Regions from separate parts of the Homo sapiens genome. Here region 1 is linked to region 2. Evidence: promoter capture Hi-C in human tissues and cell types (Jung and others, 2019). All regions are on one chromosome and are shown on one strand. The core of a region is centred on a gene start or on the middle of the fragment in contact, and the rest is flanking DNA. Distances in the headings are between cores, read along the strand shown.

Region 1 (3,942 bases), core at 127-2,626, 140 kb before region 2:
ACACACTTGAGGCTGGGACTCGATCCCAAGCCCCGACCCCACAGGCACCAGCTCGTGTTCCCAGCATGCAGGGCTGCTATGGTCAGAATGTCTGACTCCTAAAATTCCTATGTTGAAATCCTATCCCCTACGGGGATGGTATTAAGATGCAGGGCCTTTGCGGGAGACTAGGTCAGGAGGCAGAGCACTAATGATGAGCTCAGTGCCCTTAAAAACCGGACCCCAGAGAACTAGCCCAGCTCTTCTACCACGTGAGGCCACAGTGAGAAGGAGCTGAGAGGCGGCCCTCACTAGAGAGCTGGGGAGGAGGCCACAGTGAGAAGGAGCTGAGAGGGGGCCCTCACTAGAGAGCTGGGGAGGAGGCCACAGTGAGAAGGAGCTGAGAGGCGGCCCTCACTAGAGAGCTGGGGAGGAGGCCACAGTGAGAAGGAGCTGAGAGGGGGCCCTCACTAGAGAGCTGGGGAGGAGGCCACAGTGAGAAGGAGCCGAGAGGCGGCCCTCACTAGAGAGCTGGGGAGGAGGCCACAGTGAGAAGGAGCCGAGAGGCGGCCCTCACTAGAGAGCTGGGGAGGAGGCCACAGTGAGAAGGAGCCGAGAGGGGGCCCTCACTAGAGAGCTGGGGAGGAGGCCACAGTGAGAAGGAGCCGAGAGGCGGCCCTCACTAGAGAGCTGGGGAGGAGGCCACAGTGAGAAGGAGCCGAGAGGCGGCCCTCACTAGAGAGCTGGGGAGGAGGCCACAGTGAGAAGGAGCTGAGAGGGGGCCCTCACTAGAGAGCTGGGGAGGAGGCCACAGTGAGAAGGAGCCGAGAGGCGGCCCTCACTAGAGAGCTGGGGAGGAGGCCACAGTGAGAAGGAGCCGAGAGGGGGCCCTCACTAGAGAGCTGGGGAGGAGGCCACAGTGAGAAGGAGCCGAGAGGCGGCCCTCACTAGAGAGCTGGGGAGGAGGCCACAGTGAGAAGGAGCCGAGAGGGGGCCCTCACTAGAGAGCTGGGGAGGAGGCCACAGTGAGAAGGAGCTGAGAGGCGGCCCTCACTAGAGAGCTGGGGAGGAGGCCACAGTGAGAAGGAGCCGAGAGGCGGCCCTCACTAGAGAGCTGGGGAGGAGGCCACAGTGAGAAGGAGCTGAGAGGCGGCCCTCACTAGAGAGCTGGGGAGGAGGCCACAGTGAGAAGGAGCCGAGAGGCGGCCCTCACTAGAGAGCTGGGGAGGAGGCCACAGTGAGAAGGAGCCGAGAGGCGGCCCTCACTAGAGAGCTGGGGAGGAGGCCACAGTGAGAAGGAGCCGAGAGGGGGCCCTCACTAGGGAGCTGGGGAGGAGGCCACAGTGAGAAGGAGCTGAGAGGGGGCCCTCACTAGAGAGCTGGGGAGGAGGCCACAGTGAGAAGGAGCCGAGAGGCGGCCCTCACTAGAGAGCTGGGGAGGAGGCCACAGTGAGAAGGAGCCGAGAGGCGGCCCTCACTAGAGAGCTGGGGAGGAGGCCACAGTGAGAAGGAGCCGAGAGGGGGCCCTCACTAGGGAGCTGGGGAGGAGGCCACAGTGAGAAGGAGCTGAGAGGGGGCCCTCACTAGAGAGCTGGGGAGGAGGCCACAGTGAGAAGGAGCTGAGAGGGGGCCCTCACTAGAGAGCTGGGGAGGAGGCCACAGTGAGAAGGAGCCGAGAGGCGGCCCTCACTAGAGAGCTGGGGAGGAGGCCACAGTGAGAAGGAGCTGAGAGGGGGCCCTCACTAGAGAGCTGGGGAGGAGGCCACAGTGAGAAGGAGCCGAGAGGCGGCCCTCACTAGAGAGCTGGGGAGGAGGCCACAGTGAGAAGGAGCTGAGAGGGGGCCCTCACTAGAGAGCTGGGGAGGAGGCCACAGTGAGAAGGAGCTGAGAGGCGGCCCTCACTAGAGAGCTGGGGAGGAGGCCACAGTGAGAAGGAGCTGAGAGGCGGCCCTCACTAGAGAGCTGGGGAGGAGGCAACTGTCTCCCCCATCTCCAGCTCAAACTTTCCAGCTCCAAAAGTGTGAGAAACACATTCCTGCTGTTTTGCCTTTCTGGTCTATGGTGTTCTGTTACAGCAGCCCAAAAGGACTAAAATGGGGGCTTATGATGACTGCAGTAAGTTATTTTTTACCATCTTCTTTCTCTTTTTTGAGATGGAGTCTCGCTCTGTCACCCAGGCTAGAGTGCAGTGGTGCGATCTCAGCTCACTGCAACCTCTGCTTCCCGGGTTCAAGTGATTCTCCTGCCTCAGCCTCTTGAGTAGCTGGGACTACAGGCACATGCCACTGCACCCAGCTAATTTTTTGTATTTTTAGTACAGACAGGGTTTCACACTGTTGGCCAGGATGGTCTCGAACTCCTGACCTTGTGATCCACCCATCTCCGCCTCCCAAAGTGCTGGGATACAAGCATGAGCCACTGTGCCTGGCCAAATATGTTATTAATAAACAGATATTCACATAGAAACCAACTACTAATTAGCTAGCCATAGCCTGCGAGTCTCCTTAGACTTCCTTCCAACAAATGAATTCTAAAAGTAAACTCAGGCTGTGTGCCGTGGCTCATGCCTGTAGTAATCCCAGCACTTCGGGAGGCTGAAGCAGGTAGATCACTTGAGCCCAGAAGTTCAAGACCAGCCTGGGCAACATAGTGAGATCCAACTGCTAAAATAATCAGCCAGGTGTGGTGGTGCAAGCCTGTAGGCCCAGCCAAGGTAGGAGGACTGCTTGAGCTTGGAAGGTTGAGGCTGCAGTGAGCCATGATCCTGCCACTGCAGTCCAGCCTGGGCAGCAAGAGAGCGAGACCCTGTCTCCAAAAAAAAAAAAAAAGATTTGAGGCATATCACCACTTACATGTAAAGTATAAAGCAATAAAGCTTCCAGAGGAAAACACAAGAGTATCTTCAGACCTTGGAGTAGATAAGAATTTCTTGAACAAGTCACAAACAGCCCTAACCATAAAAACTGATATACTGGGACTTCATTATAATTAAGAAATTTCTGGCAGGGTGCAGTGGCTCACACCTGTCATCCCAGCACTTTGGGAGGCTGAGGTGGGAGGATCACTGGAGCCCAGGAGTTGAAGACCAACCTGGCCAACATGGTGAGACCCCCATCTCTATTTAAAAAAAAAAAAGAATTGGCCGTGCGCAGTGGCTCATGCCGGTAATCCCAACACTTTGGGAGGCCGAGGCGGGCAGATCACGAGGTCAAGAGATCGAGACCATCCTGACCAACATGGTGAAACCCCGTCTCTACTAAAAAGTACAAATATTAGCCGGGCATGGTGGTGCACACCTGTAATCCCAGCTACTCGGGAGGCTAAGGCAGGAGAATCGCTTGCACCCATGAGGCAGAGGCTGCAGTGAGCCGAGATCGCGCCACTGCACTCCAGTCTGGCAAAAGAGTGAGACTCCATGTCAAAGAAAAAAATTAAAAATGAGTGGATGTGGTGGCATGTACACGTGATCCCAACTACTCGGGAGGCTGAAGTGAGAGGGCGGCTTTAGTCTGGGAGGTTGAGGCTGCAAGGAGCATCGACTGCACCACTGCACTCCAGCCCGGACCACAGAGTGAGTGAGACCCAGTCTCAAAAAAAAAAATTCAGAAGTTTCTGTTCGTCAAAAGACAACATTAAGAGAGTGAGACAAGCTACAGACGTGGGAGGAGGATTCGAAACATGTATATCCAACAAAGGACTCGAATCCAGAATATATAAAGAACTCTACAAATCTGTAAGAAAAAGACAACTCAGTTTTTAAAAAGCACAAAAGACGCCAATAGGCACTTCACACAGAAAGGACGTCCCAACAGCCAAGAAGCATGAGCAAAGGTTGTGGCCATAATTACTCACCAGGGAAAGCGAATTAATGCCGCAGCGAGTGTGCTACACACCTACCAGAAAGACTACAACTGGAAAGGCTGATGATGCCACATGTGAACAAGGCTGCGGAGCCACTGGGAC
Region 2 (3,930 bases), core at 317-2,816:
CCATGCCAGGAGTTGGTGGAAGGAGATCTCAGGCTGCAGCTTTGCTTTCCTGCTGAGGAGACAGAGGTAGGCTGGGGCTGTAGGACAGGGGAGGCCAGCAGCCCCACCTTCCTTCTGGAGAGACGCTGCCTGTCTGTCATTGCCCCTCTCCTGCACCTGGCCGCTGGCTGGCTGCTCTTCCCTCCCAATCACCAGCAAGCCAGCTCCTGTTCCCTGCAGCCCAGCCCGCAGGATGTGTCCTGGGACCCATAGCCCTCTCTCCCCAGAGACAGCACCGCCCTGCAGCTCGGGTTCCTGGCCCTGTGCTAACCCTGGTGGGGCTTTCCTTACTGGTCTGCTCTGCAGCCATGACATTGTGGCCACCGCTCTCCTTGGGACCCCCACCTGGCTTTCCTCCCAGCACATGCTGTTTCCTACCCACCTGGATGGTGTCCTGTGTGCTGGATTCCCCATGCTGTGTCCCCAGCATCCTGACCATGTCTGTCCCGCCTGCCTAGATCTTGCACCGTGGCCACGGGGCTCCCTCCTGATAGCCCTGAACGCTCCGCTCCATGTCCTACAGAGAGGGATGTCCCAAGTAGATGTCAGCTCCCTCCAGCATCTGAGCAGGCAGGACAGAGACCCACGGTGCTGCTCACATCAGCAGCCTGGAACCCCGAGACAGCTCCTTTTGCTCACCTCCCCCAACACTGATGTTGCACCTGTCTCCAAGCCACTCTGGGACCATCTGTTTCTCTCCATCTGGGAAGCCCCCTTCGCACCTCATGCTCTTCCTGGCTGGGGCGTCTGGGTCACTCACTGGACTCTCCTCTCCTTAGACCTGTGCACAAGCACACACGGGAAGGCATCCTGACAGGTGGTGGGAAGAGAAGGCAGCTGCCTCACTGCGGAAAGAGCACGGCCGCTCCTGGACTCCAGCCCTGTTGGGGCTGGCGGGGTCAGCAGGCGCTGGGTTCCAGCCTCAGGTGGGGTCTTTGGAGGTGGCCTCTGGGCACAGGCACCTCCTCTGCGGCCTTCTCACCAGGTCACGGTTCAGGGAGGCTTTGCCGGCTACGGAGCCTGCCCACACCAAGGCGCGCACGACCACCTGTCCAGAGATGCCACGCGGGCTGGGCGGCGAAGGCCAAGGACACGCCCTGCCTGGTGTCGGGGGCAAAGGTTAGGCCTGGAAGGGAGGTGTGGGGTGGGGACCCCGAGGCCAGGGCTGGGCCGCTGAGCTTCAGGGCCCTTGGGGGGCTCAGGGAGGAATGCCGGAGGACCCCAGCATCAGGAGGAACCCCTGGAGAGCTACGGCAGGACTCACCTGTGGGGCACAGGGAGGGATCACCAGGGAAATGGCCCTTGTGGAGGATCTCCCCTCTACCCCCAGGGCACCAGGGGAGGATCTACCAGGGGGTTCTGGTGGAAGGGCCCACCCGGGAAGCGGCGCGCGGGGAGGACTCGGGGGCGCCGAGAGGAACTGTCCGGGAAGGGGCGCGCGGGCCGCGGGCGGCGCGGGGTCGGTAACGGCCCGTGCGGTGGGCGGCGGCGCCCGAGGCCCCTCCCCGCCGCCCGCGGCCGCTCCTCCTCTTCCTCTCCCGCCCGCGCCGCGGCCCTCCCGTCCCTGCGCGGCCTCGGCGGCCTCGGCGGCGGCGGCGGCGGCGGCGGCGGCAGCAGCGCGGCCCCTTTAAACGCCTGCGGCGCCCCCCGCCCCCGCCATCGCGCCTCCATTTTCCCGGCCGCCCGCGCCGAGCGCCGCGCCCGCCCCGGGCCCCTCCGCCGCCGCCGGCCCGGACATGGCCGCCAACATGTACAGGGTCGGAGGTAAGGCCGCACCGCCTTTATGCCCGGCCCCGACCCGCCCGCAGCCCCCACCCGCCGCCGCTGCCGCCTCCCCCGCCCCTCTGCCCCGCAGGCCCCGCGCCCCCCGCCCGCCCTCGCGGCCCCCGGCTCCTTCCCGAACCGCCCCCCGCCGTGCTCACCCCAACCCAAAATGGCCCCGCGGGTCGGCCCCATCGGGGGCGGGCGGGGCTCGGCGGCCCGGGGGTGGGGGGCGGCCCACCTGTTGGGGCCGAGGGGGCGGCCGCGGGGGTGGCGGGGGGGCGCGGGGCCTGCGGGACATCCGGGGGTCCGGGGCCGGGAGCCCCCAGCGGGAGCACGTGGCCTTGGGAGGCGCCGGCTGCCGGTCTGGGAGCAGGAGTTTTGGGGCTGTGGGGTCTCCCCCGGCCCGCGGCCCTGTGCTGGGACTCCGGTGCATCCCCTCTGGGGATGGGGAGCCCCGGTGAGGGGCCACGTTCCTCCCTAGAGCCCTCCTGCAGCCTGGCCCCGGGGCTTCCCCCAGCAGGGATCCCTCAGGGGGTCTTCAGCAGGGAGCGAGCATCCCGAGCACGCCTCTAAGTCCCCCCAAACTTTTCCCTGCCTCTCGCTCACCTCAGCCCATTCGGGAGGCGCTTTGCAAGGGTTGGGGAGAGGCCGGAGGGCCTCCTGGGCAGGGGCTTCCTCCGTGGGCCCAGCCTCCTGTTGCTCGGGCCCCCCGGGCCTGCAGCTTTGAGCCTTGCCCTCCTTCGTGTGCCTGGGACTCCGTGGGGTCTTTCACAGGAAGGTGGGGGGTCGTGTGCATTCCATCATTCCATCAGCGCCTCCCTCCCCAGGACTCTGAGACCCCTCCCTGCCTGTGACCCTCTCGGGCAGGTGCTCATTACCTTTCCCACCTGCAGCCTGCGCTGCTGGAGGGAGCTGGGGTCACTCCCGCTCTGGCTTGATCCCCATGCCCCTGACCCCGAGTGCCCAGAACACTCTGTGTCTCTCGAGCGTGGCTTCTGCTGCCTTGGACGCCGTGTGGTCTGGCCGGCCAGTCCTGTGACCTTGGGGACGGTGGGAGCCCCCTACATCCCGTCTGTGAGATGGGCGGTCAGTCCGCATCAGCAGCTCTGGGCCTCCCCTGTCCTCTCAGAGGGGCGGTGGGCCTGTACCCCATCCAGCGGCAGCCCCTCCCACAGCCTCATACAGCTTTGCCAGGTCCCTGTGTGGACCCAGGTGCGCTGAGCCCACCCCACGCTCAGGGAGCAGCCTGGGTGCGGGGTCCCTCGAGGGAGGGGCCTGTTCCTTCCTGTTCTTTCTCCCCACCTGGAGACCCCCCTTCCAGCCTGACATGAGGGCCCAGTTTCTCACCCTGGCAGAGAGGATGCCTGCTGCCTGGGCTCCAGCCGGGCCCACTGCGCATGGTTTTGGGATTGGTCCCAAGAAGAGCTCTCCCTGCCCCCACCCATGTTGGGGGTGGGGAGTGGTGGCAGCTTTGGGCTCTAGGGCTGGGGACACCCCGACCCCAACTCATGCCTTCCTAGTGGCTGCATTGCTCGGCCTTCAGGCCTGCCTGCCTGTGATCTTGGCGCCAGCCTGGCTGCCCCCCCTCCAACCTTCCCATGCCTCGGTTTCCCCATGGTGTGGGTGAGGACCTCGTCTCTCAGCCGTCCTTTTGTGCCCTGTGGCAGCTGTGCTGTGGCTGATGAAAGCCAGGACCCTGCCTTGTCCCATCCCGGAGGTGCAGCTCCCCTGGGCCCCACACAGGCTTGGGAGGAGCCCTTCGTGGGGCTGCGCCGCCCTCCCCGAACCCTCTGTCCCCCTGTGCCCGCAGGCCCGTCCCAGGGCCTCACTGACCCACGCACTCCAGTGCTGTGAGGGTGGGTGGCCTGGACTCCTAGGCTGTGGCGGAGGGGCCCCACCATGCCTGGCAGAGATGCTGCTGGTCTCTTTTCCTGTGATGAGGAGCATGGGAGGTTGGGTGCTGTCTGCTGGCAGCACAGCCACGCGTGGGATCCAGACTGCTTCTGCGTGTGCAGTCCGTGGTCACTGTGGCCGGGTGTGCTCGGAGCTGTCAGGCCCCCCACGTGCCCGCCCCGAGGACTTCCTCTCCCTGCAGGTGAGACTGTAGGCCTCCCCCTCTCTACTCTG

What was found. Contacts are between HindIII fragments. The study calls those that stand out against the background at their distance.
Region 1: a fragment that was not itself captured here is called in contact with the fragment with the promoter of MTA1 in region 2 in 3 of the 25 tissues and cell types used here (H1 embryonic stem cells, mesendoderm cells and pancreas).

The regions. Positions count from the first base shown.
Region 1 is chr14:105,275,644-105,279,585 of GRCh38, forward strand. All of the region lies in intron 2 of BRF1 (BRF1 general transcription factor IIIB subunit), which reads right to left. Among named protein-coding and RNA genes, the nearest start is that of BRF1, 23 kb to the right of the region's middle. The HindIII fragment of the contact is 6,963 bases long and covers 1-3,942 here.
Region 2 is chr14:105,418,261-105,422,190 of GRCh38, forward strand. It overlaps MTA1 (metastasis associated 1), which reads left to right and starts at 1,567. Exons shown (of 21, transcript NM_004689.4): 1 at 1,567-1,803. The coding sequence starts at 1,776. MTA1-DT (MTA1 divergent transcript) reads right to left here and starts at 1,479. Exons shown (of 2, transcript NR_125385.1): 1 at 762-1,479; 2 at 1-49. RefSeq lists enhancers at 1-433, 3,112-3,779, 3,780-3,930 and silencers at 1,131-1,230, 1,261-1,310, 1,401-1,660. The HindIII fragment of the contact is 32,458 bases long and covers 1-3,930 here.